6 separate regions of the Homo sapiens genome follow, and all the other regions are linked to region 3. The links are contacts of gene promoters, found by promoter capture Hi-C in human tissues and cell types (Jung and others, 2019). All regions are on one chromosome and are shown on one strand. Each heading gives the region's core, a stretch centred on a gene start or on the middle of the fragment in contact. The rest is flanking DNA. Distances are from core to core; before and after follow the strand shown.

The links. Contacts are between HindIII fragments. The study calls those that stand out against the background at their distance.
Region 1: a contact is called between a fragment that was not itself captured here and the fragment with the promoter of ABCD4 in region 3, in 2 of the 25 tissues and cell types used here (hippocampus and liver).
Region 2: a fragment that was not itself captured here is called in contact with the fragment with the promoter of ABCD4 in region 3 in 1 of the 25 tissues and cell types used here (hippocampus).
Region 4: a contact is called between a fragment that was not itself captured here and the fragment with the promoter of ABCD4 in region 3, in 1 of the 25 tissues and cell types used here (bladder).
Region 5: a contact is called between the fragment with the promoter of ZNF410 here and the fragment with the promoter of ABCD4 in region 3, in 1 of the 25 tissues and cell types used here (pancreas).
Region 6: a fragment that was not itself captured here is called in contact with the fragment with the promoter of ABCD4 in region 3 in 2 of the 25 tissues and cell types used here (lymphoblastoid cells and spleen).

The regions. Positions count from the first base shown.
Region 1 is chr14:74,737,647-74,741,684 of GRCh38, reverse strand. FCF1 (FCF1 rRNA-processing protein) reads right to left here. Exons shown (of 8, transcript NM_015962.5): 8 at 3,065-4,038. Among named protein-coding and RNA genes, the nearest start is that of YLPM1, 24 kb to the left of the region's middle. The HindIII fragment of the contact is 3,351 bases long and covers 745-4,038 here.
Region 2 is chr14:74,598,128-74,602,240 of GRCh38, reverse strand. All of the region lies in intron 2 of LTBP2 (latent transforming growth factor beta binding protein 2), which reads left to right. Among named protein-coding and RNA genes, the nearest start is that of LTBP2, 12 kb to the left of the region's middle. The HindIII fragment of the contact is 8,248 bases long and covers 1-4,113 here.
Region 3 is chr14:74,300,602-74,304,650 of GRCh38, reverse strand. ABCD4 (ATP binding cassette subfamily D member 4) reads left to right here and starts at 1,717. Exons shown (of 19, transcript NM_005050.4): 1 at 1,717-1,776. The coding sequence starts at 1,739. It also overlaps a transcript of VRTN not described here. RefSeq lists an enhancer at 1,269-1,628 and a silencer at 1,889-1,968. The HindIII fragment of the contact is 36,493 bases long and covers 1-4,049 here.
Region 4 is chr14:74,684,057-74,688,579 of GRCh38, reverse strand. AREL1 (apoptosis resistant E3 ubiquitin protein ligase 1) reads left to right here. Exons shown (of 20, transcript NM_001039479.2): 3 at 2,920-2,980; 4 at 3,900-4,126. The coding sequence starts at 2,965. Among named protein-coding and RNA genes, the nearest start is that of AREL1, 27 kb to the left of the region's middle. The HindIII fragment of the contact is 5,032 bases long and covers 446-4,523 here.
Region 5 is chr14:73,884,752-73,889,086 of GRCh38, reverse strand. It overlaps ZNF410 (zinc finger protein 410), which reads right to left and starts at 2,228. Exons shown (of 12, transcript NM_021188.3): 1 at 2,172-2,228. PTGR2 (prostaglandin reductase 2) reads right to left here. Exons shown (of 10, transcript NM_001146154.2): 10 at 3,361-4,335. RefSeq lists enhancers at 2,169-2,238, 3,870-3,979 and a silencer at 2,289-2,568. The HindIII fragment of the contact is 8,605 bases long and covers 1-4,335 here.
Region 6 is chr14:74,570,344-74,574,682 of GRCh38, reverse strand. The region is part of intron 3 of LTBP2 (latent transforming growth factor beta binding protein 2); the gene reads left to right. Among named protein-coding and RNA genes, the nearest start is that of LTBP2, 40 kb to the left of the region's middle. The HindIII fragment of the contact is 5,179 bases long and covers 1-4,339 here.

The DNA of each region.
Region 1 (4,038 bases), core at 1,171-3,670, 440 kb before region 3:
ACCACGCCCAGCTCACTTTTTTGTATTTTTTTGGTAGAGATGGGGTTTTAGCCAGGATGTTAGCCAGGATGGTCTCGATCTCCTGACCTTGTGATCGGCCTGCCTCGGCCTCCCAAAGTGCTGGGATTACAGGCATGAGCCACCATGCCCGGCCCTTATCTTACTTTGTTTTGTATTTACCGTTGCTGCTTCTTCCCTCTCCTCTTCTACATTTATTTTTCCTTTTAGTTTTTTAAAAAATTTACACATAATGAAACATACAGTTCACCAATGGTGCAGTTCCATACATTTTGACAAATTCTGCTTTTTTTTTAATTAATTGAATTTCTTTCTGTTTTCTCTCTTGGTTTAGGAGACATACATTCGATATTAATTATGATTGGGTTTGGCTATGTAAAGTAAAACCCAGGTAGGCACTTCCAATGTGTTAGTAAATATGGTCTCTCAATTTTAAAGCTTGTATTTAAAGCTTTTAACAGTTCTCCCATAGAAAAAGAGCGTAACTCTCCAGTGAAAGCTCTGGTTACAACTAATTGGCTTGTCTTTGATATCCAGGTTTGAAATAATCACAATGGCAATGGAATAAGGATATTATAATTGGCCTATCCAGGATGATTCCACTCATATTATGGCAGCAAGAGGAGTGAGCCACAATCCAGTCCTATAACTTTTTTTTTTCTTTTGAGACAGAGTCTCACTCTGTAGCCCAAGCTGGAGTGCAGTGGCGTGATCTCAGCTCATTGCAACCTCTTCCTCCTGGGCTCAAGCGACTCTCATGCCTCAGCCTCCTGAGTAGCTGGGACTACAGGTGAGTGCTACCACACCTGGCTACTTTATTGTATTTTAGTAGAGATGGGGTTTCACCATGTTGCCCAGGGTGGTCTCGAACTCTTGAGCTGAGGCGATTCACCTGCCTCGGCCTCCCAAAGTGCTGGGATTACAGGCATGAGCCACTGCGTCCAGCCTGACATTAATTTATTTAAGGAATTCTGTACCAGTGAAGAGACGGAAGAGAAAGCTTTATCTTCAGAACTTTTTCTATCCATTTATATATATACTGTATATTTCTAAATAAACAATTAAATATTTGTGATATTAAAACTTAAAACCAATATCACACTGTACCTGTTCTATAATTTAGTTTCTCTTAATAATAGGTCATAGTTATTTCCATTTAAGTGATATAGCTCAATCTCATTTATATTAATTACGGTAAAAGACACATAACAGAAAATTTACCATCTTAACCATTTTATTTTATTTTATTTATTTTGAGACAGAGTTCTTCTCTGTCACCCAGGCTGGAGCACAGTCTCGGCTCACTGCAACCTCCGCCTCCCAAGTTCAAGTGATTCTCCTGCCTCAGCCTCCTGAGTAGCTGGGATTATAGGTGCGTGCTGCCACACCCAGCTATTTTTTTTGTATTTTTAGTAGATACCGGGTTTTGCCATGTTGACCAGGCTGGTCTTGAACTCCTGACCTCAGGTGATCCACCTGCCCCGGCCTCCCAAAGTGCTGGGATTGCAGGCATGAGCCACCCTGCCCGGCCATCTTAACCATTTTAAAGCATACAGTTCAGTGGCTTTAGTACATTCATACTGTCGTACAACCAATCTCCAGAACTCTTCATCTTGCAAAACTGAAACTCCATACCCATTAAACTGTCTATTCCCCAATCCCCACAGCCACTGGCAACCACTACACTACTTTCCATCTCTGTGAATTTGACTACTCTAGATACCTCATATAAGCGGAATCACACAGTATTTGTCTTTTTGTGACTGGCTTATTTCACTTAGCACAATGGCTTCAAGGTTCATCGATGTTACAGCATGTGTCAGAATTTCTTTCCTTTGTAAGGGTGACTCATATTCTGTTGTATGTAGAGAGCACATTTTGTTGATCTATTCGTCTGCTGATGGACACTTGGGTTGCTTCCACCTCTTGGCTATTGTAAATAATGCCGTGATGAATATGGGTGGGCAAATACTCTAAGATCTTTGATTCTTTTGAATACATGTCAAGAAGTGGAATTGCTGGAATCATGTGATAATTTCATTTTTAACTTTTTGAGGAACTGCCATATTCTTTGTGGCTATACCATTTTACATTTCCAGGAACAGCGCACAAGGGTTCTGATTTGCTTCTTTTAGAGACGGTGTCTTGCTCTGTTGCCCAGGCTGGAGTCCAATGGCGCAATCATAGCTCACTGCAGCCTCGAATTCCTGGGCTCAGGCCTCTCACCTCAGCCTTCAGAGTAGCTGGAACTATGGGCATGTGCAGTGCACAGCTAAGGGTTACAATTTCTACATATCCTCACAAATACTTTTTAATAACTATTGCTTCTTTCTTTTAATAGTGGCTAAGGGGTGTGAGGTAGTATATCATTGTGGTTTTAATTTGCATTTCCCTAATGATTAGTGATATTGACCATCTTTTTGCATGTTTCTTGGCCACGTGTATATCTTCTTTGGAGAAATGTTTAAGTCCTTTGCCCATTTTAAACCTACCTCATTTTTTGTAGATAGATGTTCATGACATTCCATAGTTAAGACCCCCCACCGCTTTTTTTTTTTTTTTTTTTTTGAGACGGAGTCGCGCTCTGTCGCCAGGCTGGAGTGCAGTGGCGTGATCTCAGCTCACCGCAACCTCTGTCTCCTGGGTTCAAGCAATTCTTGTGCCTCAGCCTCCTGAGTAGCTGGGACTACAGGTGCGCACCACCACACTCAGCTAATTTTTTTATTTTAGTAGAGACAGGTTTTCGCCATGTTGCCCAGGGTGGTCTTGAACTCCTGAGGTCAGGCAATCCACCCACCTCAGCCTTCCAAAGTGCTAGGATTACAGGTGTGAGTCACCATGCCCGGCCACAGTTAAGATCCTTTTGATGGACATTTAGTTTGTTTTTTCTCTTTTATAAGCAGCAGTGCAGTAAACATCCTTCTACCTGCTTCCTTGTACACATGTGAATGTTTCTTCGCATACATATCACGTTGTCCATGCAGAGGTATTTTAAAGTGAATCACCTGTATGATACTATAAAGTTACCAAAAAAATAGAATTGGGCTCACAGGATATCTGCAATTTTTATTTTAGTGGATCTTGTCAACAGCTGTAAAAAATGGCCATAAATATTTGCACTTCTGTCAGCATGACATCAGTACTCATTTCTCTAAACCCTTGTTACATGTATTGGAAAATCTCATCAGTCACTTGTTTTTTAGGGGAGGGGAGTGTCTTGCACAGAAATCTATAATTTTAATATATTCAAACTCTTCAATCTTTTTAGATTCTGCTTAAGAATTCTATCCAAAGGTGATAAACACGTTTTTCTTTACATTTATTTTCCTAATGCTTCCATAGCTTAGAAATAAGTTTAGGGTGGGTGCAGTGGCTCATGCCCATAATCCCAATACTTTAGAAGGCCAAGGTGGGCAATAAGGCAAAATCCCATCTCTGTAAGAAATACAAAAATCCCAGCTACTTGAGAGGCTGGGGTGGATCATCAGGGCCTGGGAAGGTCAAGGCTGCAGTGAGTCATGATTGTGCCAACGCACTGCAGCCTGGGTGACAGAGTGAGAAACTGTCTCAAAAAAAAAAAAAATTTAGGTCTTTGATCCACTTGAAATATTTTTATGAATCATGTGAAGTAGGAAACTAATTTTTTTCTCTCTCTCTTTTTTTTTTTTTTTTTTTGAGACAGAGTTTCACTCTTGTTGCCCAGGCTGGAATGAGTGCAATGGCATGATCTCGGCTCATCACAACCTCCATCTCCCAGGTTCAAGCGTTCTCCTGCCTCAGCCTCCAGAGTAGCTGGGAATACAGGCATTTGCCACCATGCCTGCCTAATTGTTTTTTTGTATTTTTAGTAGAGATGGGGTTTCTCCATGTTGGTCAGGCTGGTCTTGGGCTCCTGACCTCAGGTGATCCGCCCACCTTGGCCTCCCAAAGTGTTGGGATTACAGGTGTGAGCCACCACGCCCGGCCTAATTTTTTTTCAAATGGATAGCCACCTTGCCATTGTGTAATAATCACTAACAT
Region 2 (4,113 bases), core at 726-3,225, 300 kb before region 3:
GCTCGGGTTGCTTGGGAAACACGGCCAAGCTCTGCTGCTGCAAGTGCTGAGCTCGGGCTGGACCCAGGCAGACTGACTCCAGAACTCCAGGCTCCGATCTCCTGGGCTTCGTTCACTCCCGACACCAGCGAGGCCTGGATATTCCAGAGTGTGGAATCCCCACAGACCATAGCAGATATGGGAGTCTGAGGGAGCCCGTTGGATCTTTCTCCTTCCTCCCACAGGCCCCTCTTGGGTCCACATCAGCTCCCCAGGAACTCCACCTGACTATCCTTCAGGTGACTGCCCCTGCCTCTGCCAGTCCCAAGCCTGGCTGCAAAGCCTCAGTCTCAACAGCTCCCTTCCTTCAAGGACCAGCCCCAGGCCCTTCTCGGTAGGAGGGCTTCACAGCTAATAGTCCAGGTGTGTGAAAAAACGTATGATGTTCCCAGCATGATGGATGCCTTCATCTGGGAACATCATACGTTATTCTATGATAACGTATGATAACGTGGTTGTCCTAACACCCCACTTGATGGGATGCGATGCGATTGCTCCCATTCCCGCGAGTCTGGAGATATGGGTTCACCAAGCTCTTGGCTTCTGCCTCAGGCCTCGTGGCCCTGACCCTCTGCCTGTTTGAAGATGCAGCTCAGGCAGAATTTTGGGTCCCTCCTAGGACCTCCAAATAACAGAACCAGAGCCAAAAACTCAAAAACAAACAACGAAGCAGATCTGCTTAAACACCCTTTCCTTTTCAGGGAACGTGGATGCCTGGGGGCGGCTCAGAGGTCAGGCCCTCAGTGGTCAGGGGCACCGGTGGGGAGAAACACTTGTCCCTCATTATTTATTTTTATTTAATTAATTAATTAATTTTTTGTAGAGACAAGGTTTTATCATGTTGGCTAGGCTGGTCTCGAACTCCTGGCCTCAAGTGATCCTCCCACCTCACCCTGCCAAAGTGCTGGGCTTACAGGTGTGAGCCACCACGCCCAGCCCCTCATAATTTTAAAGAAGAAAGTGAGCCTCAGAGAGGCGGTGACTTGCTCAAGGCCACACACCTTATTGGAAAAGAACCTGAGACTCAAAATCAGCTCTGAGCAACTCCTCTGGGTAGAGAAGCCAGGGATGTGGGCGGCCAGGTGGCTTTATGCTAAGCAGAGGCTCTGGGGCTGGGGCCTGGCACTGTAATTTTTTTAACAGCATCCCAGGTGATTCTAGGTGTGGTCAAAAATCACTGAGCAGAGTTGGGGGTCAGTCATAGGAAGATCTGCCTTGGGGGCCCTCCTCAAACTTGAATGTTCCCCCAACCCTCTAGGAATCACATCAAAGAGAAGATTCTGATTCAGCAGATCTGGGGTGGGGCGGATATTCTATGTTCTAACCAGCTCCCAGGAACGCTGACGCTGCTGGCCCAGGGACCACACTTTGAGTAGCAGGGCCTTCCAGGACTCAGGAGGCCTGGGCAGGAGGGACTGGGACTTGGAGGTGAGGAAGAGGGTTGGTATGTTTGAGAGAGCTTAGCCTTTGTTGGGAGGTTGGGAGGCAGCGTTGGCTGATGGAGAATGTTGCTGAGGTTTGAGCTGAAGCTGCAGCGGGTGGCTTCATAGGGGGTGGGCCTTTCCCCAGCTGCCCCAGGGGTCTGGGCATAGGTCTCACTTGGGCCCTCCAGCCCTGGAGGTTCTCGGTTTCCTAACTTGCTAGTGATGTTCCAGTGTTATTCTCTGCCAAACTGGAGTTTCAACCCTAGAAACTCAAGGTTGAGTGAGTTTGCATACTGTTACAGTACCAGTGCATGTGTGTGGGGGCATCCTTGTGCCCCAGTGGGTGCTGCGCCAGGATGCTGAGGTAGGATGCTGCCATACCTTCTCCCCTGGTATTTCTCTCCCTGGCCGTCTCACCCTGCTGCCCCCGGTCACCCACCCTGACCCAGGCATACAGGCCAGCTGCTCTCCTGAAGGGAGTTGCCAGTGGGCAACAGCCCCTCCCACTTGAAGTTGGCTCGCCCGTGGCAGGGCTGTGTGCTCATTAACTGGTCCCTGTGCTGTTTGCTTGTTGCTATTTGGCTGCTAATAAGCCTAATGAGAACCCACGCAGGCGGGCGGTGGGGTGTTGGCACTGGATGGCTTCATCCAGAGCTCCGCAGAAGGTGGGGCTCTTGGCTCCACACCCCGTCAGCTGGCTCTCCCCCACCCCTGTGGCTCCGCACCTCCCTCTCCCCTCCCAACAGCTGCCCTCCTGGCTGGGGCAGAGACTGCCAATGTTGGGGAATGTTCATGATTCTGTCCTAGCAGTTTCACACATGAAGGGATGCCTTCCTGGGCCAGTGAGAGATGGGGGCTGACATCCCCCACTGCCAAGAGTAAAGTCTAGTGCCAGAACCACAGGGAGACTCAGTCTCTCCCAGATATCTGTGGGCCCAACCCACTGCCCATGCTCAGGGAGTGCTGGCTCCTGCTCAGTTGCCCTCTCTTGCCTCTGGCAGAATCAATCCCAGGTCACTGTCACACACCAGTCCATCTCCCGGGCCTGCCCTCCTTCCGCCCTGTTCTGCAGGTGCCCATTGCTGGAAGCCCAGCCCCTCCTTCCACCTTGGCGGGGGCTAGAGCTGGGCCGCCATCTCCTCCTCCAGTCTTGGTATCTGCCTTTCCTTCTGTAGCTTTGCCAGCTCTCTCTCGGGACTTATGTGTTTATGTATTTGTGGAGGCAGCTGATTGCGGCCTGCCGGGCCCTGCCCAGCAGAGGGGAAGAACTGGAGGGTGTGGAGTGACAGTGTCCTGTTTATAGTTGCAGCTTTTGGAAGACTGTCCATTCTTCCCAGACTGGCTCCCGCCCAACCCCACCCCAACTGGGGAAGGGGATTTGAATACTCCCTAGACTTCTCATTTTATCTCAGCCTGGACGCACAGGGGCTGGGGCTGCTTTGGGGAGGACAGAAGAGAATCCCTGCAGCTGTCGAGGAGGGGGCAGGCAAGTTACTCTCCCACTCCTGCCCCCAGCAGCAAGGCTCGAGATTAAGAGCATGTACTTTGGATTCTGGCACCAGATCCCTGGAGACGTGTTTGAGTCCCAGCTCTGTGTCCTGGGGGAAGTGACTGGCCCTTTTCTAGCCACAGGGCCTCGTCCATAAAATGGGCATAACAATCTATATAGAGTTGGTTTTGGGGATGAATGATATGAACGCGATAGCTCTTACTGTGCACCAGGTACCATTCTAAGCACTTCATATTGTTCATTTTTAATCCTCACAACAGCCCTATAAGCTAGATTGGATTTTTTATCCCCATTTACAAATGAGGTCGGCTGTCTGTCCGAGTCATGCCTCTGAGACTCATCAGAGCCCAGACATGAATCCAGGTAGCCTGGTTCCAGAGTGCGAGGGCTTAGCTCTGTGCTTTCTGATAAATGAGTAAATGTGTGTAGACAGCCTGGCGCAGGCTAAGTTTAGCTGGTATTTTAATGCTAGATCAGGAGACCATGCTGGACTGCCTGGGTTTAAATGTCAGCTCTCAGCTCCACCACGTGGCTGAGGGGCTATGGGCAGGCTGCTTAAAGTCTTTGTGTCTCGGTTGCCTCTTCTGTAAACTGGGATCAACATTGGGCCCTGTCTCCCAGAGTTGTAAGGAACAAACACCGTCACTTAGGTCAGATGTTTAGCTCAAGGCCTGGCATGTGCGATGCACTCTATACATGTTTGGCCTTGATTTTGAGGGCAGGGACTGTGTCTCACCACCCTCAGCAGGCAGCACGCTGGGTACAAGGTAAAGGGTCCATAAGTGTATACTGAATAATACAGAGCCTATCCCGGCCGTGTGCCTGAGAGAGCCCTTTCTGTTGCCCAAGTTCTATCAGCCCTTCCAGAAACTCCCCACGGTGTTCAGGGGATCCTGGGGATGGTGACGCTGGAGTGGGCCTGAGCATTTCTCTGCGTGTATCACGTGGGCAATGGAATGGCATTTCCCCAAGTCCCCATCTCAGTCCTACGAGAACCCTGTCTCTCCTGATCTGAGCTCCTCCTTGGCTTCCTTGAGGGAGCCTGTTTGCCCCATTCATGACAACCACATCCCAAAGTGGAAGACTGTGGCAAGGTGGCTAAGAGCCCCAGCTTTGGAGTCAGGCTCCCTGAGTTCAAAC
Region 3 (4,049 bases), core at 468-2,967:
TTTTGGGATGCCTAGGTCAGAAGGAATGCCACCGGCATCTAGTGCGTAGAGGCCTGGGATACAGCTAAACATCCTACATTGCATAGGAAAGCCTACACAGCAAAGAATGATCAGGCCCCAAAACTTAATGGCGCCAAAGTTGAGAACCCCTGCTGTATGGTATGTTTGTCATAGCACTTCATAAAGACAGCTGTAGGCCGGGCACGGTGATTCACACCTGTAATCCCAGCATTTTGAGAGGCCAAGGTGGGTGGATCACCTGAGGTCGGGAGTTCGAGACCAGCCTGACCAACATGGAGAAACCACGTCTCTACTAAAAATACAAAATTAGCCGGGTATAGTGGTGCATGCCTGTAATCCCAGCTACTCGGGAGGCTGAGGCAGGAGAATCGCTTGAACCCGGGAGGCACAGGTTGCAGTGAGCCAAGATAGCACCATTGCACTCCAGCCTGAGCCACAAGAGCGAAACTCCGTCTAAAACAAAAACAAAAACAAAAAAAGGCCAGGAGCGGTGGCTCACTCTTGTAATCCCAACACTTTGGAAAGCCAAGGCGGGCAGATCACCTGAGGTTAGGAGTTCAAGACCAGCCTGACCAATATGGAGAAACCCTGTCTCTACTAAAAATACTAAATTAGCTGGGCGTGGTGGCACATGCCTGTAATCCTAGCTACTCGGGAGGCTGAGGCAGGAGGATGGCTTCAATCCGGGAGGCTGAGGTTGCCGTGAGCCGATATCGCGCCATTGCACTCTAGCCGGGGCAACAAAAGCAACACTCCGTATCAAAAAAAAAAAAAAAAAAAAAAAAATCTGTAATTGTCAACTGATTGACCTACCCAGCTAGACTGCAACTTTCATAAAGACAAGTGATACATGCATGTTGTAGAGTGTTTGGCTTGCAGTTGAAACTTAATAAGGATTGGAGGAAAGTGAGAAGACACATCCAGATTCAAATTTAGGGACCTGTGGGATCATGCTGTTTGGGTTTTTTTTGAGCCATTTCCCACCTCCCTTTGGGTACTAATCAGTCAACTGATAAGCATTTCATTCATTCAACTATCTATCTTATCTATCGATCATTATCATCTATTTATTTGTTTTTGAGACAGGGTCTCTCTTTGTCGCCCAGGCTGGAGTGCAGTGGCACAGTCACGGCTCACTGCAGCCTTGACCTTCCGGGCCCAAGTGATTCTCCTGCCTCAGCCTCCAGAGTAGCTCGGACCACAGGCGCTCGCCACCATCCCCGGCTAATGCTTTTGTCTTTTGTAAAGGCGGGGTCTTGCCATGTTGCCCAGGCTGGTCTTGAATTCCTGGGCTCAAGCGATCCTCCCGCCTTGGCCTTCCAAAGTGCTGGGATTACAGGAGTAACCCACCGGGCCCGGCTGGAAGCCTAATTTATACTTTTTTAAAGATCATGCTGGCTTCTCTGGGAGAATATGTAAAACATCTATTATACACAGAATCTAAAATACTTGCCATAAAGTAGTTACACTCTCGGATACCTATTGTCAAAAGGGAAGTCTCCCAGAAAATATGGGGGCGCTGTAGCCGCCGGGTCAGCCGAGTCCACTCTCTGGTACTTTTAGAGACGTCGGTCGCTTCCGGGAGAGTCCGCGTCTCCCGCACCTTCCTCTCTATCAAACGCCGTCTCTGTGGTAGCCGGGGCCCCGCCCCTCCTCGGACTCTACCCAGTACTGAACTAGGGGCAGCTGGGCTCCAGAGTCCCTCGGGTCTCAGGTCATGGCGGTCGCGGGGCCCGCGCCCGGAGCTGGCGCCAGGTAAGCAGGGCGGTCGGGGAGGAGGTTTGGGAGCAGGAGTTCCGGGCTGTAGGGAATGGGCTTTCCTGCCCTCCGTGCCTCGTCCGCCGCCCTGGCGCCCCCGTCTCGCCCCCGTGACTTCTGAGAGAAAGAGGAGCTCTCGAAGGGGCGTCCGCCCTCCCGCCGCTCTAGGCCGCTCCGCACCGGCCGCGGCCCCCTCCGTTCTTGGCCGGACTTGTGCCATCTCCTGCGGTGTGGGACCCTCACCCTCGCAACTGGCATTCTTTTTTTGAAAAGAAGAACCTCAGGTGCACAAAATTGAGTTGATCCTTCTCAGTTCTTGACACCCTGTGGGCCAATGCAAGGCTCCTTGTTTATTTTATCACTTCCTCTCTTCGTTCCTATTCCCAGACCCCTTTCACTCCCCTTTTCAGACAGCCACTCTGGTGTGTTATATAAGTGGCTTTACGGTCCACCTTGGGTAAATTTGTGCAAGTGTTACTTTGAAATCTATATAGCGGTTTCGAATTCTTCAATATAATATGCTGTGATTTTTCTTTAAACCTTTTTCCTCAACATTGTGTTTTTGAGTCCATCCATGCTAGTCATCTTGTTTTCACTTCTGAGTGCTTGCATGAGGGGTGCTGTGTGCATAGACTTATTCCCCTAGTGGTGGATAGATTTTTTTCTAGTATTAACACCCCCACAAGCCACACTGTAACGAATATTCTGGCAGTTGTCTCCTTGTGCATATTGTTGCATTTCTCTGGGTATCCACCCCAGAGTTGGGTCCTGGTCATATCTAATTTTGCTGGATTGTTCTTTGGAATGGTCACACTAGTTTATACTTCCCGACGGGCAGTGCATAAAGCTTCCTGTTTCCCGGTATCCCTCCATCGTTCAGTGGCGGCTGGTTTTGTAATGTTTATCAGTCTGGGGGGTGTAAGGTGGTATCCCATCGTGTACATTTTCTTTCTTTCTTTCTTTCTTTCTTTTGAGACGGAGTTTTGCTCTTGTTGCTCGGGCAGGAATGCAGTGGCATGATCTCGGCTCACTGCAACCTCCGCCTCGGGTTCAAGCGATTCTTCTGCCTCAGCCTCCTGAGTAGCTGGGATTACAGACGCGCGCCACCACACCCAGCTAATTTTTTGTATTTTTAGCAAAGATGGGGGGGTTGGCCAGTCTGGTCTTGAACTCCTGACCTCAGGTGATCCACCCGCCTCGGCCTCCCGAAGTGCAGGGATTACACTTCCCGACGGGCAGTGCATAAAGGAATTACAGACGTGAGCCACTGCTCCCGGCCTACATTTTCATGTGTTTATTAAACGTGGGTTTTCCCTTTTTTGAATTGCCTGTTTATATCCCTTCCCACTTCTCTGTGGATTTCCTATGTTCCTGGCTTGCAGGAATTCTTGTAGGCTCTAGATTTAGATCCTGGCCATGCCCGGTGGCTCACACCTGTCATCCTATCACTTTGGGAGGCTGAGGTAGGTGGACCACTGGAGTCCAGGAGTTCAAGATCAGCCTGGGCAACATGGTGAAACCCCATCTCTACCAAAAATACAAAAATTAGCTGAGCGTGTTGACGCACGCCCGTACTCCCAGCCACTAAAAAGGCTGAGGTGGGACAGTCGCTTGAACCCGGGAGGCAGAGGTTGCCCTGAGCTGAGATCGCACCACTGCATTCCAGCCTGGGCAACAGAGCAAGACCTTGTCTCAAAAAAAAAAAAAAAAAGATTTTAGGCCAGGCGCGGTGGCTCACGCCTGTAATCCCAGCACTTTGGGAGGCCGAGGCAGGTGGATCACCGGAGGTCAGGAGTTCGAGACCAGCCTGACCAATATGATGAAACCCCGTCTCCTACTAAAAATACAAAAATTAGCCGGGCGTGGTGGCATGCACCTGTAATTGCAGCTTGTCAGGAGGCTGACACAGGAGAATCACTTGAACCAGGGAGGCGGAGGTTGCAGTGATCCGAGATTGCGCCGTTGCATTCCAGCCTGGGCAACGAGCAAAACTCCGTCTCAAAAAAATAAAGATTTCAAGTCCTTGTTGGTTTTGCACTCTGCAGATACCACCTCCAAGTCTTCTAACTTAATCTATGGCACTGTGTTGAATAAAAACATTTAACTCTAATGAAGTTAAATTCATCAGTTTTCCCCTGTATAGGTTTTTAAGGTATCTTCATTAAGACATTTTTCTACATTTCCTTCTATTAACATGATAGTGTTACTTTTCACGTTTAGATTTTTAATCCATTTGTAATTTTTTAAGTTTTTTGTTTTTGGTTTTTTTT
Region 4 (4,523 bases), core at 1,712-4,211, 380 kb before region 3:
AAGTAGTAATTGGTCTGTTGAGTTTTAAATGATGAATAGAGGTGGGGCAGAAATGTAGAACTGACTCATTGGAGAAGGTTTAGCTGATCTTGAAAATCAGTAGTGATGATTTGATTGAGAAATAAGTGACAGGGGAAAAATGGCCGAGGACTCCACAAGGTAAAGCTCATTACTGCCAGCTTCATGATAACTGGACTGTGGCTCTCATGTTCTAATTTGTCCTCCCTGTACCTGGCACATTGAGTAAGTACTCAGGGCCGGGCGTGGTGGCTCACGCCTGTAATCCCAGCACTTTGGGAGGCTGAGGCGGGTGGATCACGAGGTCATGAGATCGAGACCATCCTGGCTAACACAGTGAAACCTCGTCTCTACCAAAAATACAAAAAATTAGCTGGGCATGGTGGCAGGCACCTGTAATGCCAGCTACTCGGGAGGCTGAGGCAGGAGAATGGCGCGAACCCGGGAGGCAGAGCTTTCAGTGAGCCGAGATCACACCACTGCACTCCAGCCTGGGTGACAGTGTGAGACTCCGTCAAAAAAAAAAAAAAAAAAAAAAAAAAGTAAGTACTCAGTATTTGTTGGACGAATTATTTTAGGATGAGTTTTTAACCCTTTATTGTAAAATTTTTTAGGCATAAAATTAGAATAGTATAAAGAACTCCCATGCAGACTGTTCAGGGACAGTAATAGAAGCCATGCCTTTTGAAATTCAGATGCATTTCTCTTTGAAGAAAGTGTGGGCCAGTAGAGAGGAGTTTCCTATCAGCTTTGAAGTAAAGGAGTAGTGATACTGGCGCTACTATTGATAATAATTGTAATAATCATTAAAACTTTGAGAACTCACTGTGTGCCAGGCACTACTGTAGGCTGCTTACATGTGTTAACTCATTTAATCCTCACAGCACCCCGTGAGGTACATATAAGGAAACTGGCACTCCTTTACAAAGATTAAATGACTTGTCCAGGGTCACATTATGAATGATGGGGCATGGATTTGAAGCCAGGTAATCTAACTCTAGAGTCTGCCCCCTTATCCTCTATCTTATGCTATTTGTTATGCTGTTTGGCTAGAGCTTTGATGGCCATGGGGAGTTGCATTGAAGTCATATCATACTAAAGGAGATGATACCATAGAAATTATTAAATTGCAACTCTTTTTACAGCAATGAGATTCTGAAGCCTAGATAGGTCACACAGTTTGCAGTCCTGGGATTGTTCTCCAGGCTTTTCAATTACTGCATGTCAGCTGTCTCTCACAGAAGGGTTGTTGTAGTTGTCAGAGATAGTAGGTGGGAATTTTTCTAGCCCTCATGACTCAAGCCATACATTTGGCACTGCTTTTATTCCTCTAAGAAGACCACAAATCTGTAACACCAGCCACATATACTTCATTTCTTTGCTGAGTGCTGTAACTTCCCTGAGGACCAGAAATTTCACATCTAGGGTCAGATCGAATGGCATCCCGCTGAGGAAGTACCTAAGGCAGTTAAACTGCCAGTTTTGGTCCCACCAAGTCATCTAGTGCATCCTGTAAGATGCAGACAGATGCTTTTTGAGAGATCGTAGCAGATTTTTGAGATGATAGCTGTTGGGTCCCCAGCTAATTCAGCATAGGGTCCCAAGAGATGAGATACTTGTTTGGGAAGGAGGTTCAGTAGTTGTGATCCCAAATTTTGGCTCTTTATATTGTCTGTAATAGACCCTTTTGGGAGCACCTTCATCCACGTGACAATTCTAATGTTCCCAGTGTGGATTTCTTTTCTAGTAGGACTTTAGATAATCACTCTAAGTAGGATTTGTATGAAACTTTTGACGGTCATTCCTCAAATTACCTACTCTCTGTGGGTTCCACTGGGTATATTGTTATCAGAGGAACTAAGCAAGCACAATCAGATGTAAAAACACACCCTGAAAAAAAGTTGTTTTGGTCCCTCCCAGATCTGAGCCTAGAAATTTTTAGCTGTCTTGTCTCTACGTAATATTCTAGTGCTGATAAAAGGTGTTGGGTCAAGATAACATTGACAGCCTTAGTGTACGCTGACTTGAAAAGAAAGAGTGCATTCATGCATTGTAAAATAGCATATACAGCCTGTGCTAAGGTCAGACTCAGTGATAAGATATGAACGTTAGCATACATTGCATTTTTCCTTGGCAGTACTTTTATTGGTTCACATGATCAAATGAGTAATTAAGATTGAAGTCTTATTCTGGAAACAAGTTTAACAACAGTGAAAGTCTTCCCTCAGACTCCTACCTTGACAGGCATGACTGAGGATGAGAAGTACAGTCTCCTTTTGTTCCTCTCCTTGGTCTTTCTGCTGAGCTCATCTTCCAGAGGGCCCATTAGTTTGTCTGATTGGTAACAGCATAAATGACTTCACTTTCAGACCCACTGCTTATTATTGGGATGACCCAGAGTTCATTTTAATTACATAATGCCAACATGATGATAATGATACTTGCTTTAAAAAAAAAAAATCTACATTTTATATAGCTATTTCTACTTAGCTGAATTACTCCCAAAAGGCAAACATAAGGGGAAAGTGACTCCATTACCCTCTTTGCATGTGTTAATTAGCACCACTTTGCATGAGGGAGGGAAACTGTCTTGGGAACTATGGATCTAAGAAGATGAAAGCCATGTTACTGCATTTTGAAATTAGCAATAAAGCAAGTGGCTGTTTGTGGTATTCCTAGAGTGGTCAGTAGATTGGAAGTCTTTAAGGGGAATGATGCAGTCTCTTTGTTTCTCTGAAATATATTATACGGCACCTGTCAAGCTAGAAAGAGGATAGGAATAGTAAGGCTCTGGACTAGAGAGAGTTGTTTGGCTCACGCCATACACTCTTCTTTGTCTTACTCTGAGATAGCTATGAGGCAGAGTTGGAGACAAAAACTAAACAAGTTTTCTTTTAACAGCTGCAGCTGTGATCCTCGGCTGTCTGTTGGCATTGACGGGACCTGATGTTTTACGTTATTGGTACGTTATGGAAAGAGCTCTCTCTATTATATTTTTGTAAAGGTTGCTTGGGTCCTTTTTGCCTTTCTGCCTATTCTTTTCCCTTTGAAAATGGAGCTGAAAATATTTCTAGTCGTGCCAGAATGTACCTTCACAGAGTTGGCATTGGAATTCATTCATTTGGGTTTATTGAGCAATTATAGTCAATGCCAGACACTGTTTACTGTGGAGTCTAAAGTTGAATAAGACAAAAATCTGCCTTCAAGGAGTAGGCATTCATAACATAAAGGGGAACGGTCAAGGAGGAGAAAAGTTATACCAGATGAATGTGTAGGAGTTTGAAGGAGCCCAGAAAAGGGAACTGCTAACTCTGGTGGGGATTGGAGAAGACTTTTGCCAAGTACACAAGGGAGGGGAGGGCTCCCAAATAATGCATTCTTTAAGAAGGAAATGGTGGGAACCAAAGGCACATCCTTTTGACTGCTTCTGTGGGGTGCCCAGCAAGTGCAGGAAGGTAGGGAGCAGGGCGGACATTATATGCAGCTCATATAGAGCAAGAGTTTGCAAACTTTTTCTATAAAAGGCCAGAGAGTAAATATTTTTGGTTCCGAAGGCTCATTTCAATGACTCAACTCTGCCAGTGTAGTGCAAAAGTAGCCATAGACAATTTATAAATGATGGGTGTGGCTGTATCCCAATGGAACTTTATTTACCAAAATAGGCAGTGGGTGGGCTTTGGCCTGAGGACTGTAGTTACTGACCCCTGGTGTAGAAGTTCCTTTCTTATCTACAGAGGTAGTGCCCAGTGCAGTGTTTCTTTGGCAGTCTTACAGTCTCATCCTGACCTCCTTTAATTTTTGAGAAATGGCTGGCCTGTTGCATAATGAAAAGCTGTAATGTGTAACTGGCAGGCGGTTTGTGTGTTCTCTCTTTTGCATAGGTGGAATCACAGTGTCTGTGGTTGCATTCTTCTTCACAATTAAGTTCCTCTTTGAGCTTGCCGCACGTGTAGTCAGCTTCCTCCAGAATGAGGACCGCGAGCGCCGAGGGGACCGGACTATTTATGACTACGTGCGGGGAAATTACCTGGATCCCCGGTCTTGCAAAGTCTCCTGGGATTGGAAGGACCCCTATGAGGTGGGCCACAGCATGGCCTTCCGAGTGCATGTAAGGGAATGTTTCTGTCTCCATACCCATTGGGGTTTCTGAGTAACTTGCTTTCCAGAGCCCAGGTGCTGGCCTGGAATGTTAACATTTTCTCTTGTTTTTCAACTCCCTCCAGGAACTAGTGAATTGCTACTATCTGAAGAGTCACAAATTTCTCTGTCATTTTGATTTAATAGGTCCTTAGCTTTGAAGAAGTATAAAGCTTAATGTTACCTTTTCAAAATAAGAAAAATATTACAGAAAAGAGTAAGTATTATAGATAGGGGTTAGCAAATCAGGCCCACCTTCTGTTTCTTTAAATACATTTGTCTTGGAACACAGCCACACCCATTCATCATGTATTGACTATGGCTGTTTTCACACCTGAGTAGTTATGACAGTTGAGTAGTTGTGTACG
Region 5 (4,335 bases), core at 979-3,478, 420 kb after region 3:
TTCCAGGATTGTAAAATCTCTGAGGAACCAGACAACTATTTACTGTCCTTTTTATGTTATCTATGACATCTTTTTATTTCAGTGTTTTCACTTCAATAATCTTTAAAAATTAACACGAGCATTTTCTCAAGCACTGGGTATTCATATTATAACTAAGTACTACCATACAATTTTTGTGTCCAAGTTTATGATTTGTATGTGTACGGTATGAATAAAATAAAAAATAGCAGGATGCATTAAGATATGCAACTGAACTCAAAAGAATTTGTACTAGAGCACTCAGTATCTTATCAAGTGTACTGTGGGGATCTCATCTTTAACAGAGCAACGTACTATGTACATTAGCTATAGGTGTAACGGCAAATACACAATTAAACATTCCTATTCCCAATTCCTTACTCAACAGATTTCCAAAACTGCAATGTAAATCTTTTTTAAAAATTAGTTTCACTAAGATATCGTTCACATACCATACTATTGACTCATTTAAAGAGTACAATTAAAATATCTTTAGTTCATTCAGAGTTGTACAAGCAGAACCACGATCAATTTTACAATATTTCATCACCTCACAAGGAAACCCTGTGCCCATTAACGGTCACTTCCCACTTCTAATGTGTTTACTATGAGCTTAAAGGGCTTCCATACAAGCTTCCCAGTAAGCAACTGGTAGGTACTAAATATTTGTATAATGAATGAATGACACTACAAATGATACCTACATTTTTCTCTAGTCATCTCTTCTGAACTCCAAACCTTCATTTCTAACTGCTTGCTAGGTATCTCCACATGTATATCCAACAGCATCTCAAACCTAACAATGTCCAAAATCCAGATTATTATCTTCCTTACCAAACCTGTTCTTCTTGTATTACCTATTTCAATGATCGCCCAATCTTCCTCCCACTCAGCTGCAAATTCTAGGTCTTTAAATCTCTCTCATTCTCCATTTTTAAATAATTCCCGTGATTCTCTGTTCCCAGAATGTTCTCTGTTCCCTACTGTAATGCCCTGTTTAGGTCTCTCAGTAACTTTCTACTATACTATTAAAACAGGCCTCTAACTGGTCACCCCGCGTTTAAAATTCCTCTTTCCAATACATCCTTTATGCAGCCATTCAAGTTATCTTTCCAAAACAAAGAAATGCTTATGTCACTTCTACTCAAAGTTCAGTGCCTCGGAAAAATTGTCATAGCCCTAAAGGTAAACCCCTTCGTTTACAGAAAAACTCCCCAGAGCTAGAGATTCAGCAACTTGCCAAAAATTAGACATCTACTTAGATGCAAAACGTAAAAAACTAGAACTTAAAACTTCTGACTGCTACTTTAGTTGTCTTTTACTCTGCACCACACTAAGAAAAAACCAAGTGCAATTTCTCACTCCCTAACAAAATGCCCGACTTTATTTCCAAATGTTTTTTATTTATTGCAAATATGCTGCGTTGACCTTCGTTCCAACCTAAGTACTAATTCTTAAGTCCCAAGTTAATAATATTTAACTTCCAAATGGTGCCTAAATGCATTTCTGAGCCTCATGATCAAGTGGGATAAACTTTAATAAATTGGATTATCTTGAGAAACTTCAGAAAATAAATTCGACACGAAATGTATGAAGGCCGTAAACAATCCACACACTCCTGCCCCCCGAACTGACAGGCAAAGGAGAAACGGGCGACCCAGCCCAGCCGAGTAGGCAGCTGTCCCTTTTCCAAACCCAGAAAGTAAGTGGTATGAAAGGAGAGGGTAGCTCTGGACTGAAACATTCAGGGCAAGGCCTCCTGGCATCCTCTACCCCACACCACAAAGGCCTCAGAAATAAGGCCCCAAGGTCCGTAGGCAGGCCCCGGCTGCGGGTGCAGTCCAAGAGCCCCCGCCCCGGGGACTCGCTGACTCTGGCTTTCTCAGGACAGTCTGTTCCTATATCCCTACCCCCAAAACCAAGCAAAGGAGCAAGAACATCGCCCCTAAAAACCCGCGAGGGGAAGGGCCAAAGCCGCAGGGCTTCAGACTGGCCGCTCCCGGGCCCGCCAGATCCAGGAGGGATGCCCAAGGAGGGCGGTTTCCTCTCTCGGGGCGAACTCGGCCCCAGGCCCCAAGTAGCCGGTACTGGCCCCCGCCCTCTCGGGTACTACCTAACCGAGGAGGGGTGGCCAGGCCCACCTCGGAGCTCACCTTCCAGTTCCGGGAAGCCGGCCGGCCGTCAGTCGGTCCCGAATTCCGTCCACACACAGCGTCTTCCGGCTCCCGCCGGAAGCAGCTCGAGCGCGGGACAGGAAGTTTGGCTGACCCCCCACGCACACACCCACTCGCTCGCCTCAGTGTCGTGTGGCTGCCGCACTGCTCGGGACCCAGACGTCAAGGGTGCTGGCGGGGCCTCCCCAGGCCCGCGACGCAGGGCTCCGCCCCGGACAGGAGGAGCCGCAGCCGCCCCGCTCCCACTCACTCACTCACTCTCGGCCTTCGGGACTCCTATGTCCGCGAAGCCCGAAAAAACAGGTCAGCTAATTCGTTGACGTCACTGCCACCCCGCAGTAGCGGAGGGAGTAGTTTTTCCCATCAGCGGAGGCGTTGCAATGGAGGCAAACGCGAAAGAAAAGATCACTGCTTAAACATTTATCAAAGGTCTCCATGGAGAGGACCTTCGAAGTTTCACCGCCCGAGAAAGGAACTTGCAGAATCAAGTTTTGCATTATATACGGGACGGGGTATGCAGTGAGTCTGGGTTCCGTGTTGTAATTAGGATGTAAAGAGCTCTTGGATGTCCCGACTGCGGGCTTGAACACTTGACTTCCAAGCTGGATGCCACCTTGTTAAAGCTTTGTGAGTTTGACTGACTTCTTGAAATTACTTATTTTAAAATATTTGCGTGCGGAAGAATGAGAGACTCAACCGTGGGAATTAAAGGAGTTCTCTTTAAAAAGGCATTTTCAAGGTTAAAGATAAGCCTTGATGACAGGTTTGGGTACACAAATTACTAATGGTGATTTAAAATAAAGGAGAAACATTTCAGAGGAAGATAATTCCACTTTAGAAAAGCAGAGTAGGCCGGACTCCGTGGCTCACGCCTTTAATCCCAGCACTTTGGGAGGCTAAGGTGGGCGGATCACGAGGTCAGGAGATCGAGACCATCCTGGGTAACGCCGTGAAAACCCGTCTCTACTAAAAACACAAAAATTAGCCGGGCGTGGTGGCACGCGCCTGTAATCCTAGCTACTCGGGAGGCTGAGGCAGGAGAATCGCTTGAACCCGGGAGGCGGAGGTTGCAGTGAGCCGAGATCGTGCCGCTGCACGCCGGGCGACTGAGCAAGACTCCATCTCAAAAAAGAAAAGAAAAGAAAAAAGCAGAGTATAAGATGCAATCCAGAGTTGAGGATATTTACTTGGAGGTAAAGGTCCAGTGCTCAAGAAAGAGGTCAGAAATACAGATGGAGATTTGGGAGTTAGCAACATACAGAGAAAAGTGAAACCCCCTCAGGCGATGAAATGGTCCAGGAAAAGTAACAAAAAAGGGCCACTCACGAAAACTGGGGAGGCTGATTACCAACACAGTTTGAATCTACTTATTACAAATGTTGCATACAAAAGTATATTGGCAGTGTGTAGACAATCATAAGCCAAAACATTCAGAAACAATAATCTTCAGTTTTACTGTTCTGCGAGGGTTGAGTACAATTAATAAAACAAACTTTTGAGGTACATCAGTAGTTCCTGAACATTCATGTTTACAAACATTTGTTAATTTGCCCAGTCCTGTCATTTTCTGAAACTGTCTTTGTTGTCAATCTGTTTTTGTTTTTTGAGATGGAATTTCACTCTTGTCGCCCAGGCTGGAGTGCAATGGTGCAAGCTCAGCTCACGGCAACCTCCCCCTCCCAGGTTCAAATGATTCTCCAGCCTCAGCCTCCTGAGTAGCTGGGATTACAGGCGTGTGCCACCACGCCCAGCTAATTTTTGTATTTTTAGAGAGATGGGGTTTCACCGTGTTGGCCAGGCTGGTCTTGAACTCCTGACCTCAAGTGATCTGCCCGCCTCTGCCTCCCAAAGTGCTAGGATTACAGGCTTGAGACATCAGGCCCGGCTGTCAATCTTTTTAATCACCTACAAGTGATGTTTACATCTGTTTGCCCTCTCAATCTTTACAACTTGACAGTATGTGCCTGCTAACCTAAAATAAACATATGCTTTTCTCAATATATATGGAGTTTTTAGGCTATACAGTAAATTATTTGGCAAATACAAAGAGATGATCCTCTGGAGTAAATCTTGTCAACTTAACCAACCTAAGTTATTTATCTTCCCATACTAATCCCAACCCAAAACCGCTGGTCTCCTATCC
Region 6 (4,339 bases), core at 1,170-3,669, 270 kb before region 3:
AAATCTCTGAGATACGAGCTATTCACCTTCTGTCCTCCCAGAGCCTACAGTTCGGTGATGGGGAAAGCTACCTTTTCCAGTTCATCATCATCATCTTCATCATCAGTAGGATTTATTGCACCCTGCTGTGTTTCAGGCATTGTGCTAGATTCCTACCCTATTCTTTTCCTCCTTGCTGTCCCCACTTTAGAGTCACCAGCTCAGTGACATGCAGGACATGGATGTTGTACAAATGTCTTTTGGTCAATTGTGTCGTGTCCAAATAGTGGAGTATAAATGGCATAGCACAGGGACCAGCACCCAGGAGCACAGGGGTGCAGAGGTTCCCCAGAGCTCATCATGGCCTTAGTGGTGTGCTTAGAATTATGGTTACCATGGCGGAAGTTTGGGTTAAGATTGACTAGCACTAAGGTTGTGGTTAGGGTGACATTCTATTTAACAGTACGGTAGTGGTTAGGGTAAGATTAGAGGAATAACTTTAGCAGTGCAGCATTAGGGTGAGGTTTTAATCTTAGGATTGTGGTCAGGGTTGGGTTAGGGTTATGCTAAAGTAACATTTAGGACTGTGGGTGTTTTCGATTGTATGTGTGGTTGTTGTTCTAACCCACCATTGATGGAGCCTTATTGAATAAGCTGACAGTTTACAGGCACCACCTAATTTAATACTGGGGACAGCTCGGCACAGTGGCTAAGAGCATGGGCCACGAGTCAGACAGATCCCGGTTCCACTTGACTCGGTTACTCCCCAGTCGTGCTATCAAGTGTGTTCTTTCACCTCCCCGAGTCTCAATGTGAAAGACTGATGATACCAATACTGGCTGCGCAGAGCTGTGGTCAGAATAACACAAAGGAATGTGGATAAAGTGCCGGCTCACATAGGTAAGTGCTCAGTACTCGATAGCAAATACTTTTTCTTGTCTGGGTCAGTTAGAGTTCCAGCAGGAAAGGGATGGCACACTCGATGTATTTATTTACAAAAGCACTGGCAGAGTCAAGAGAAAACAATGAATAATGGTGGAGTATCCCAGGGTAGTTACGTAGGCAAGCTCTTACCCTCCAGGTCTAAAGGGGCAAGGGACCAGCAGTCATAAGAACCCAGGGTAGCTCAGGCTATAGGAGAGGGCCATGGACAGGGCTGCGGCCTCTGGTGGAGGAATGCAGCCACTGCTCACCTGCAGTACCTGTTGCGAGGGAGCTGGGAGGATCTGCACCTCCACTCACCCTTCTCCTGCCCTCTGACCTCCTGCCACAGTTCCCCACTGATGGAACTGGACCAGAAGGCAGAGGGCAAAGGAATCTCCCAGGACTCAGAGTGGGATGGAGAGGGATCCAGGGGCAAGTGGAAGATCTTCAGCACATTTGCCAGTCCTTGCCATGACCCTGTGAGGAGGGTATTCCCATGACTCCCACTTTGCAATGAGGACACTGAGGGTAAGGGCGATTCCAGCCTAGCTCTCCTCGACTTCAGAACTTGTGATTATAGTCATTGTGCGAACCAGCCTCCAGGGCATGTGAGCGTAGGCAAGTGCGGAAACATCCAGCTTGGCTTGGAAACTGCAGAGTACTGGGTTAGGCAAGGTATCCAGCGTCTTTTCAGAAAACTACAGAAGTCGGTGAGAGCCTGGAGCAGCATTCGGCCTCATTAAAATGTTAATGTATACAGTTTCCAGCACCGGACTTAAAATAACTAGTGACAATAAACATTTCAAGCTTGTAGCTATGTTCATAGCATCTAGCCAACTTAAATCCTGTAGGATTTTTGTTTGAAAGGAAGAGGCTGGGAGCAATGAAGCAAGAAAAGAGAGGAAAGACTGGCAAAGCTCTTTTTCAGATGGCCCAGGGAAGGTTCGCCCCATCCGGCTGCTTTTTACAGAACTGGCTGCTCACTCAGTGAGGGTCTCCCTCTGCGGGGGTATGTGTGTGTATGCGTGTGTGTGTGGCGGGGCGTGGGTGGAAGCTGTGGAGAGAACATGTCTCAAAAGTCATAATGGAGATTTTTTCAGGCTCCGTGAATTCTCCTTTTGAGCTCAAGTTTTTCAAATATGTATCAGGTTTCACCTCTTGTCCAGGACATAAAGGAGGTTTCTGATTTATGGGTCCGGTAGTTTTTCCAGTTACTCCATCTTTAAATCTGCCATCAGTTAATTAATTTGCCACGGTCAGAAAAGGCACTGTGAGCTTCCCAGGTGAAAATAACTTTAGCAAAGTATGATCACAGTTTAAAAAAAAAAAAAAGGGAGGCATTCTGAAACATACACTTGTTTCCACTTGTGAAATTAACTGAATCAGTGTCTCGGCACTCCTCCTCCTCCCCCTGTCATGGCGCATGCACACACACACACTCTCTCTCTCTCTCTCTCACACACACACACACAGACACACACACACACACACACACCCCACCTCTGCAGAAGGGCTAAAGGGGAAGATTTAAACCTGGCAGGATAATTTCCCAGAAAAGGATTAGAAGGGGAAAATGGATTAACTGCAAAGTCATCTGATGACTGTGTTGTATGAGGCTGCTTGGGACCCAGAGGGGTGTATTCGTCTGTCTGTGTCTATCTGTCTGCAGATGACACCGGGAAGATTGCTAAATGATTCCCAATAATGAAATGTGAAAACACATAGTTGCTTTGCTAGCCACATAGCTGTGGTTTTGTGTCTGTGATTCATGGTGGAAGTGAGTAGCTGCGACAAGCATTCTGTGGGTTTTTTTTTTTCTCCTTATTTCTCCTACAAAAATATTTGTGAAAGGTCTAAAAGGAAGTGGAGTACTTTTTGAAAAGAAAAAAAATCCCTGTTCCTTGCAAAACAAAGATTACAGATGAAAACTTCTGGAGCTACCACATTTCTGCTTCCAGATGTCGCCTACGCTGCATTTTCCTCCTGGAGCCTCAGCCCTGCCCACGATGTAACATGTCCACCCGCGAGTGCCCGCAGCAGAGGCCACTTGAGGGAGTCTGCATCTGCAGGGGTCTGGCGGTATCCTCTCAAGACCCCAGCCAGGCCACGCCCTTCCAGGGGAGAAAAATTAATTCCACATTTCTTTCTTTTTTGATGTTCTTGGGACAAGGTCAGAGGCTCCACAAAATGCAGTAGCGTGTGAGGGCAGAATTGTGAAATAATTTATGTCTTAAATAAACCTGAGTTTGAATCTCAGCTCCACCACTTAGCTATGCAGCCTACAGTGAGTGATTTAACCTTGTGAGCTTCAGTGTTCTCATCTGTAGGCTGGGGATGATCATTGCTACCTTATGGAATTGTCAGAAGGATTGACTAATCCACGTAAGTGCATCTGGCACATTTTTGGTCCTCTATAAATGACACCCAGTCTTTTTTGGTGGGGAGGAGGATGGAGTCTCGCTCTGTTATCCAGGCTGGAGTGCAGTGGCATGACCTCGGCTCACTGCAACCTCTGTCTCCCAGGTTCAAGCAATTCTCCTGCCTCAGCCTCCTAAGTAACTGGGGAATTACAGGTGCCCACCACCATGCTCAGCTAATTTTTGTATTTTTAGTAGAGACGGGGTTTCACTATGTTGGCCAGGCTGGTATCGAACTCCTGACCTCAAGTGATCCGCCCACCTCAGCCTTCCAAAGGGCTGGGATTACAGGCATGAGCCACCGTGCCCACTCTTTTTTTTTTTTTTAATATAAAGAAAAGTGGTTTATTTGGTTCATGGTTCTGTACATTTGTTCAAAGTCTCACCGTACCCACTCTTACTTGTCCCCTGCCTCGGGGGTTATCTGAGCCTTTCAGAAATGCAGCAGCGGTCATCAGAAACTTTGAGAATTTGCCCAGAGCACTTGAAGGTGTTTCCAGACCTGGGAGGTTTCTGGTCACAGCCAAGGGTGAGCAGCAGGGTGGGGAAGGGAATCTCATCCCCCAGAGGCAGACAGAGCTCAGCCTGAAGACCCTGGCCCAGCACTTCCCTGCTGGGGATGACCCCGGGCAAGTTAGCAGGCTCCCTGTGCTTCAGTTTTCTCTTCTGTAAAATGGGGACACTAGTTCCTGTATCATAGGGTTGCTGTACTAATCAAGTAAATAAAAAAATAAAATGCCTTAGCAGAGGCCTGGCACATCATAGGTTGACAGATTTGGGCTGCTAGATTGCTGAATGGAAGCTTTCCAGGTTGGGGCCCTAGTTCCCATAGAAATCTCCTTTTGTTTATGGCCCCGGGGTAAATTTCCAGCCCCTGTGAGAGCGGAAAGGGCAGGCTGGGACTTTGGCCAGTTCCTGAAAGTGTATCTTTGACCCAGGTCCCTAGCTGCCTTAGTCTACAGTGTGCTTGTCGGGGCAGGCCCACGAGTGGGGTAAACACATCTGGAGTCAGGCCTGTG